3 separate regions of the Homo sapiens genome follow, and regions 1 and 2 are each linked to region 3. The links are contacts of gene promoters, found by promoter capture Hi-C in blood cells and fetal thymus (Javierre and others, 2016). All regions are on one chromosome and are shown on one strand. Each heading gives the region's core, a stretch centred on a gene start or on the middle of the fragment in contact. The rest is flanking DNA. Distances are from core to core; before and after follow the strand shown.

Region 1 (3,180 bases), core at 190-2,689, 300 kb before region 3:
TATTATTGTATTGATATCTATCTCTCCCCCTAAATCTAATGATATTTGCTTTATATATCTGAGTGCTCCAGTGTTGAGTACATATTTATTTAGAATTGTTATATCCTCTCACTGAATTGATCCCTTTATTATTATATAATTACCTTCTCTGTATCTTTTTATAGCTTTTGACTTGAAGTCTGTTTAAGTCTGATACAAGCATAGCTGCTCTTGTTTATTTTTGGTTTCTGCTTGCATGGAATATCTTTTTTCATCCCTTCACTTTCAGTCTATGTGTGTCTTTGTAGGTGAAGTGAGTTTCTTGTAAGCAGTATATAGTTGAGTCTTGATATTTTTTTATCTATTCAGCCAGCCTATATCTTTCTAATTGGGGATTTAATGTTTACATTCAAGATTTTGTTTTTCGTTCAAGATTATTGATAAGTAAGAAAAAAACTCCTGACATTTTGTTAATTGTTTTCTGGTTGTTTTAGATTTCTTTTCTTCCTTTCTTCCTCTCTTATTGTTTATCTTTGTGATTTGGTGGTTTTCTGTAGTGATGAGGTTTGATTCCTTTCTCTTTCTCATTTGGATAACTGTTCTACCTGTGAGTTTTATACTTTCACGTGATTTCATGATGGCAGTAATCATCCTTTTCCTCCAAACGTAGGACTTTCTTAAGCATTTCTTATAAGGCTAGTCTAGTGATAATCAATTCCTTCAGCTTTTGCTTGTCTGGTGATGTAGTTTAAATGTGTGTCCCTGCCCAAATCTCATGTTGACTTGTAATCCCATGTTAGAGGTGGGGCCTGGTGAAAGGTGACTGGATCATAAAGGCAAATTTATCATGAATAGTTTATCACTATCCCCTTGGTGTTGTCCTCAGTAGTGAGTTCTCTTTTTTTTTTTTTTTTTTTTTGAGACGATGTCTTGCTCAGTCGCCCAGGCTGGAGTGCAGTGGCGTGATCTTGGCTCACTGCAAGCTCCGCCTCCTGGGTTCACGCCATTCTCCTGCCTCAGCCTCCCAAGTAGCTGGGACTACAGGGGCCTGCCACCACACCCAGCTAATTTTTTTTTTTGTATTTTTTTAGTAGAGATGGGGTTTCACCGTGTTAGCCAGGATGGTCTCGATCTCCTGACCTTGTGATCCACCCACCTCAGCTTCCCAAAGTGCTGGGATTACAGGCATGAGCCACCACACCCAGCCAGCAGTAAGTTCTCATGAGATCTGGCCCCTTAAAAGTATATGGCACTTCCCCACCTTCTCTTGCTCCTGCTTTCTCCTTGTAATGTGCCTGCTCCTTCTTTGCTTTCTGCCATGATTGGAAGCTTCCTGAGGCCTCCCCAGAAGCAAGATGCCACTATGCTTCCTGTACAGCCTGTAGAACCATTAGCCCATAAAACCTCTCCTTTTATAAATTACCCAATCTCAGGTACTTCTTTGTAGCAATGCAAGAACGGCCAAATACACCTGGGAAAGTCTTTATTTCTCCTTCATTCTGAAGGATAACTTTGGTGGGTATAGTATTCTTTGCTGGCAGTTTTGTTCTTTCACCACTTTGAATATGTCATCCTATTCTCTCCTGGCTTGTAAGCTTTCTGCCAAGGAATCTGCTGTTTCTCTAATGGGGATTTCCTTGTGTGCAATAACACTTTTGTCTTGCTGTTTTTAGAATTATTTGTCTTTTTGACAGTTTTACTATAATGTGACTTGAAGGGGACCTTTTTGGGTTGAATCTATTTGGGAAACTTTGAGCTTCCTGGATTTAACATCTATATCTCTCCTAAGATTTGGGGAGTTTTCAGCTGTTATTTCATTAAATGGGTTTTTCTATATCTTTTCCCATTTCTCCTTAAACATCCATAGTGTAAATATATGTTCACTTAATCATGCCTCACAAGTCCCTTAGGCTGCTTTCTTCATTCTTTTCTTTGTTTTAAAGACAGAGTCTCTGCTACCCAGGCTGGAGTGCAGTGTATGATTATAGTTTACTGCAGCCTCAAACTCCTGGGCACAATGATCCTTCCACCTTAGCCTCGCAAGTAGCTGGGACTGCAGATGCATGCAACCACACCTGGCTAATCTTTTTCCCCCAGAGATGGGGTCTGACTTTGCTGCCCATGCTGGTCTCAAATTCCTAGGCTCAAGCAATTCTCCCACATCAGCCTCTCAAGTAACTAAAATTACAGGCATGAGCCCATGTGCCCAGATTTTTCTTTTTAACTTTTTATTTTTGGTGGTCTGACTGGGTTATTTCAAAAGTCTTTTTGAATTCTTTCAAAAGAGTTTCAGAAATTCTTTCTTCTGCTTGATCTACTCTATTGTTGAAGCTCTCAACCATATTTTTTATTTGTTAAATTCTTCAGCTCCAAATTTTCTGTTTGGTTTCTTTTTTTGATATCTATTTATTTGTTGAATTTCTCATTCAGATCGTGAATTTCTCTCCTAATTTTGTTAAATTGTCTATCTGTATTCTTTTGTATCTCACTGAGTTACCTTAAGATCATTATTTTGAATTTCTTTTCAGGCATTTCATTGATTTCCTTTTCTTCAAGTCTGTTACTAGAGAATCATTGTGTTCCTTTGGAGGTGTCATCAGATCAGCCCAAGGAACATCTCACCAATTTCAAATCAGGAAGCGGTCTCTTCACTCTCTTCTCCAGCCTCTCTTGCTACCCTTCAGTCTCCCTATCCTTCCAATTCCAGTTCTTTTCCTTTCTAGTAGAGACAAAGGAGACACATTTTATCTGTGAACTCAAAAACTCCAATGTCCGTCACAGATTTGGGAAGACAGTCTTCCCTTGGTGTTTGATCATAGCGGGGACGCCTGCCTTCATCATTCACCCACACTCCCTTGGTGGCAGGTCAATTGCAGGGACACCTGCTTTGGCTGCTCACCCACATTACAGCCCAGGACTCAGTCAGGGACGCATACTGGAAGCCTGGTATCTGCCCACCTCCATTTCTCCGTGTCTCTACCTTCCTCTTTAAACTTACCTTCTCCACTATGGGCAACCTTCTACCATCCATTCCTCCCTCTTCCCCCTTAGCCTGTGTTCTTAAAAACCTAAAACCCCTTCGACTAACATCTGACCTAAAACCTAAACGTCTTATTTTCTTCTGTAATACCGCTTGGCCCCAATACAAACTCGACAATAGTTCCAAGTGGCCAGAGAATGGCACTTTTGATTTGTCCATCC
Region 2 (3,144 bases), core at 157-2,656, 470 kb after region 3:
AAATATGACAGAATTAGAATAACCATCATTTGAAATTATTTCATTCAGGCAACCAACTATACGCTAAGATACAAGTAGGTGATTTTCCCCTGAAGTTTGAAAAGAAGGACCAGTCTCTGAAACATGTCCTCTGGTTTTCTACTTCTCCCAAATATCTTCTCTTGCAAAGTTCATCATTAAAGCTCTTTGAGGATTATTTCAGACCCCTACATGCTATGTCTGGGACACAAGAACAGTCTTAAAGAGAATGTCCTGAAGCTCATCCACCTCAGTGTGCAGGGCTGGAGCTCATGTATATGTACTTTGGCTCTCACCAGAAGTGGTGAATCTTAGGGTTCTGGGTCTTATTGTTTTAAGAGATATGATGTGAGCCAGGCTGCTTAGTATGAACCACCGACAGATGAAATGATGGCTTATGAAAGAAAGTTAATGTAAAATATTAGCCCATGTGAGCTAGCATAATCAGTTGTTTTTATTAAAATGTTATGTGTTTGTTGCATTAGGAAAAGGAAGTGGATTGGATACCCCTTTGTTCCCACATATCTTCAGTCTTTTTACACTTAGCACTACCGGCTATTTTTAGCATGCTTGTTGTCTGCCTATCCTGTTACAACATCACCTCCACAAGGACAGGGAATTTGCCTGTGTTGTTCACTGTTATACCCACTCCACTTCCTAGGAAATGCCTAGAAATAGAAGGAACTCAGTAAATACTTCCTGGGTGAGTAAATACATGAGAAAATTATTTGTGTGCATGGATAGTTGCAAAGATCACTATGGCATAAGCAGAGGCTTCCCCACTCGGGTTACAGCAGTGCGGTTCTTTGTTTGCAAACTGCAGTTACCAGCTGAAGCATCTGCTGTGATTTTTTTTTTTAATCTACTTCAGTTTACTTGAAGGGTTTCCTAAGAAGACAGTGTGCTGGTTTATGAAGCTATTGTCTCTCTACTTCAAACCCACCTTTCCTTACTCAGCTTTATGGCACTGGGGCTGGGATGATAGGAAATAGAGTTTTGGCTGCCTGTGAGGCTTCTCTGAGAGGGAGGCACTGGATGCTTGCTGGAAGGCTAGAAAGGGAGGGAGGGAAGGAGAAGTCCCTGTTCCTGGCAGCGGCATCCGCCAGCAACAACCGCCCTCTCTTGGCAGCAGCAATTGGTCTGGTTCTAGTCTCCACCTTCTTTCTACACTTTTTCTGCAAAGTTACCCATAGCAGCCAGGCAGTGCCCTCTCCTCAGAGATCTGGTCCGAGTCTGACAATGGCTCTGCCGGGCATCTTCTCTGATTAGGGCAGCTTTCAGACAGCTGATTGCTCATTAGGAACACCTGGGACGGAACCGCAATTTCTTCCCTTTATTCTACCTTCTCTATTTAGCTTAGCCAATTCCTTATAACTGATTATAATTAATTTATAATACATTCCATCTGTTATAATATGCTTTCTAGTTTCCTGACCCGGACTCTGATGGATCATGTTCTTTATCCTACAGCTATGTGTGTTTCTGCAAATTCTATATTTCAAAGCTCTTAACAATTCACAAACTTGCAGGACTTCTTTTAATTTAATTTAAAATGATAGTGGGGTTTCTTTTAATTTAAAAATGTTTTTCTGTTGGTGGGTATTTAAACACATAAAACAAATAGAGATTTACACAAAATACAAATGCTCCAGTCTTACTTATCAATTTTTAACACATTTCCATCGGATTAATGTTCTCTTACTTTCAAACTCCCTCTTTTTAAAAATGCAGAACAGAAACCCCAATCGTTCATGAATTCTCAGAGCATCCCTTTCTGTGATAATAGAGTGGAGAAAAACTTCCTGTGGGTCTGCAATCCTATCCCCGCACAGGTAAAATACTTCTTTGTTTTTTCATGTGGAATATTTTGAGCAGTTTTCAGGATGTTCCAATCTCGACAGCCCACTCGCTTGTCCCTGTGGCGTCTGAGGGGATGCTGACACATGGAGTTTGAGAACCACACTTTAAGAAGTTGTTCTTTCCTGTGGGGCAGAATTAGGGCAGCTTTCCGACAGCTGATTGTTCATTAAGAACACCTGGGGTGGGACCAGAAGGAGGACAGAAAGTGCCATCTGAGATTGCAGAAATTCTCTTTAATTTCACAATTATGCCCATAGCAGGCTTTCTGTGGCAGAGTTGTTGACCTAAGGTTCAGAAGACAATCTGACTTGGCTAATGACAGCATTTTCTCATGATCTGCAAAACATGAAGAAATGATGCAGTGGGAAGGTTGAAGCCATCGGTATAGTGAGTTGCTTGACCTGCAGAGAAGTCATAAGTTCATTTATCTTCCTCTCAGCAATGACTTAAACTCCTGTCTATTGAGTGCCTCCGAGGCGCAAGACAGGATGCTAGGCACTTGATTCTTCACACACTTGTGGAGTAGGTATTATAATAAGAGCACTGATCACCAGTCTTGAGCTCATAATTAAATGCCCCACAACTAGAATGTGGTCGAGCTAGTCCTTAGTTAAATCTAGGGGTAAAGTCTGGTTGTTTTGACTTTTTTACCCTCCTTCCACCATAAAGCATAACATATTCTCACATGGAAACCTGCAGGGCAATTCCCCTGCTTTACATTAATGAGGGACAAATACGATTTGTGTCTTTTACTGTGTCTAATCTCCCACGGTTCTCACAGCTTCTTTTAAATTTATATGACTTTTCCATTTTCATAAAAAGATAGGATGCCGTTTCTTATCTTTTTGGATCAATGTTATGGTATCAGTATTGATTCTTAAAGAAGTCCTTTAGAGGTTCAGCTCTGAAGCTATTGATCATTCAAAAGTTCCTCCTTTATTTAATTTTCATGTCACTTCAGTCTTTGAAACTTTAGGTTTCACATTTCCTCTGTATGTAGCTTTCCAGTGGAAGACAGGGCTTTCTTTACTGTATTTCTAAAATTATGTAATTTGGGGGTACTTTATTTGGCAAACATGGATAGAATATTTATATGTTTGTGAACAATGTGCAATTCTTATCACAGTGTTACCTAAAATAGCTAACATAAAGAGTCTAATTTATAAATAAGAGAAATTGAAGCTTAGGGAGTTAACTGTTCAATGTAATTAAGTAGACTAACGGGTAGTAGAGCCGTGCCTCCAATCAAAGTCTATTCAAGGCCCA
Region 3 (3,008 bases), core at 447-2,946:
CTGAAAAATCTGTAAATTTTTGGAAATTAAACAATACACTTCCAAATAAGCTATGGATTAAATAAATCGTGATAAATTAGAAAATATTCTAAATGGAATAAAAATGAACACAAAATATACCAAAATTTGTCAGATGCACCAAAAGTAGTGCTTATTGGAAAATTTATCATTTTATTTGCTTATGATAGAAAGATCAAAATCAGTTATCTAGTCTTCTACATTAAGAAGCTAGAAAAAATTACAAATTAAATGCAAAGTAAGTAGAAGAAAGAAAATAAATATAAAAATGGAAATTTTATCTTAATAAAGAAGAAAAATGGACAATATCATGAATGATAATGGGGACTTTACAGATCCTACAGACATTAAGAGGTTAAGAAAAACATTATAAATAGCTTCATATCAATAAAAACAATAACTTAGAAAGAAGGGATAAATTCCTTGAAAGATACATTTTTAAAACTAACTCAAGAAGAGTTAGAAAACTGAAATAGTTCTGTAGCAGTGAAAGAAATTAAATTTACAATTAATAACTTTTCAACAAATAAAAACCTTCATATCTAGCTTCACGCGTGAATTCTATTAAACACTTAAAGAAGAAAATGGGCTGGGCACAGTGGCTCACACCTGTAATCTCAGCATTTTGGGAAACCAAGGCAGGAGGATCACTTGAGCCTAGGTGTTTGAGGCTGCAGTGAGCTATGTTCACACCACTGTACTCCAGCCTGGGGGACAGAGTGAGACCCTGTCTTTAAAAATAAATAAATAAATAAATAAATAGAATAAAATAACACTAATCATATACATGCTCTTAAAACACTTAGGAGAAAGAAATAATTCCACATTTAGGATATGAGGATAAGCTTATCCTAAAACAAAAACCATCATAAGAAAAGCAGACTACAAACAAATATGTCTCATGAATGTAAATGAAAAAAATCATTAACACGTTAGTAAACTGAACTAAAAATAAATACAGAGAATAACACATCATGACTGAGGATTAACCCAGGAATTTCAAGTGGTTTAACATCTGAAAATCAATCAATGTAACTTATCATATTAATAAAGGAAAAAATTCATATGATCTTTTCAACAATTGCTGAGAAAGAATTCAGAAAAATGCAACACTCATTTATTGATAAAAATATTAAAGAAAGTAGGAAGAGCAGGGACCTTCCTTAACATTATAAAGGGCATCTACAAAAAATCTGCAGTTAACATCATACTTAATGGTGAAAGACAATACTTTTCACCCTAGGTCAGGAATTGGGCAAGGATTTGCATGCTCACCACTTATGGTCTCCATTATTCTGGAGGTCTTCTCCAGCACAATCATACAAAAAAACAATCAAAGACATACAAGGGATGGAAGAAGTCAAACTGTCTTTATTTAGAGATGTCATGATTGTATATATAGAAAATCCCAAGGAATCTACAAAAAAGCTATTAGAAAGATCTCAGGATAATAATGTACAAAAAAATCGTAATACATTGTGGTAGTTTTCAAATTTCCACAAATTCTTTGGCACCCTTCTCTTTAAAAGGTGGATTCTAATCGCCTTTCCTTGAATGTGGGCTGGTCATAACACCTTGCTTCTAATTAATAGAACCTGGTGGAAGTGAGCGTGTGTGACGTCTGAGGTGAGGTCACAATAGGCATTACTATTTCTGCCTTGTTCTTTTGGATGGCTTCGTCTGGAGCCAGGGGTCTTGCCATGAAGGACATTCAAGCAGTTCTGAGGAGAGGCCCAAGTGAAGAGGAACCAGTTGCCAGCACCACCCTGTCAGCTATGTTAGTAAGTCGTTTTGGAAGTGCATGTTCCAGTCTCAGTTAAGCTATCAGAGATTTTAGCCCCTCAGTCATTGAGTCTTCCAGCTGAGGCCCCAGTCACAGTAGAGACAAATTATCCCCACTGTGCCCTATCTAAATTCCTGATCCACAGAAACCATGAGTAACTAAATCATTATTGTTTTTAGCCACTAATGTTTGGAGCAATTTGTTATGTGGCAATGGGTAACCAATAAATACATATGAGCAACAAACAACTGAAAAAAGAATAAAAAACATTTTGATTACAGTAGCATCAAACATTACTTAGGATTTAACTTACTTAAAGGTATGTAAGACCTAAATACTGAAAACTACATGATATGACTCAAATTAAAGACTGAAATAAACAAATAGATTATATTAGTAGATTGGAAGACTCAATGTTGTTGACAAGTAAATTTTCTCTGGATTGGTTAAAACTATCAGATCTTTGTGCTGAGGTCTTCACACAATTGTATTGGCTGCCATTTCAGTGCCGTCATTTTCTAGTGATTTATCTCTTTGTCTTACCTCCTTGATTATTAATTTGCATTGCCAAAATAAGTAAATGTGTGGGGAGGGCTAGTGCAAGGCTTCTCCATTCCTTACTCAGCCTTAGCTGTTACTAGGCAAACAGACCATGTATTCAAAACCCTTCTTGTTAGGGACAGAAACTCCTAGAACAAGGCCATTCAAAGCCACTTTCCTTTGGGTATCCAGTGCCTCAGGCAAGTGTTTTTTGTTGTTGTTGTTGTTTTGTTGTTGTTTGTTTGTCTTTTTTAACAGGGCCCCTGCCTATATAAACAATTTGATTAAAAACATATATTTAAAAATTCATCAGTACATGTGAGATATGATGATTTATCATTGAAGATTTAGGATGATGGGCAGAGAAAGGCAATCTGTTTTGTCTATTGTCCAATCAGTGCACGTGAAGATTTGTTACAGTATCCAGGTACCATCTCTTTGTATTCTTTATTATTAAATGCATTGTTCTTGGCTAATTTCCTATTTTTTGTTATGAGAAAAAGGTAGCAATACTGTTATTACAAAACCATGACTTTTTGGAACCTGTTTGTTTTGAAACAACACAGATCTCCTTGCCTCTGCAGTTCCCTAACACCATTTTCTTAATGACTTTGCGACATCTACCACTCTACCTGTGAATCCTGGCTTCTAATGACTCAAAAATCCT

The links. Contacts are between HindIII fragments. The CHiCAGO score rates a contact against its expected background, and 5 or more counts as called.
Region 1: a fragment that was not itself captured here is called in contact with the fragment with the promoter of PLBD1-AS2 in region 3 in 1 of 17 cell types (monocytes); the score reaches 5.4 in monocytes.
Region 2: a contact is called between a fragment that was not itself captured here and the fragment with the promoter of PLBD1-AS2 in region 3, in 1 of 17 cell types (neutrophils). The highest score is 6.0, in neutrophils.

Annotation. Positions count from the first base shown.
Region 1 is chr12:14,228,828-14,232,007 of GRCh38, forward strand. No RefSeq gene overlaps it. Among named protein-coding and RNA genes, the nearest start is that of ATF7IP, 140 kb to the right of the region's middle. The HindIII fragment of the contact is 266 bases long and covers 1,307-1,572 here.
Region 2 is chr12:15,001,186-15,004,329 of GRCh38, forward strand. It overlaps LINC01489 (long intergenic non-protein coding RNA 1489), which reads left to right and starts at 648. Exons shown (of 4, transcript NR_120466.1): 1 at 648-721; 2 at 1,750-1,850. The HindIII fragment of the contact is 3,304 bases long and covers 1-3,058 here.
Region 3 is chr12:14,528,443-14,531,450 of GRCh38, forward strand. It overlaps PLBD1-AS2 (PLBD1 antisense RNA 2), which reads left to right and starts at 1,697. Exons shown (of 5, transcript NR_187784.1): 1 at 1,697-1,799; 2 at 2,600-2,768. The region is part of intron 6 of PLBD1 (phospholipase B domain containing 1); the gene reads right to left. The HindIII fragment of the contact is 11,029 bases long and covers 862-3,008 here.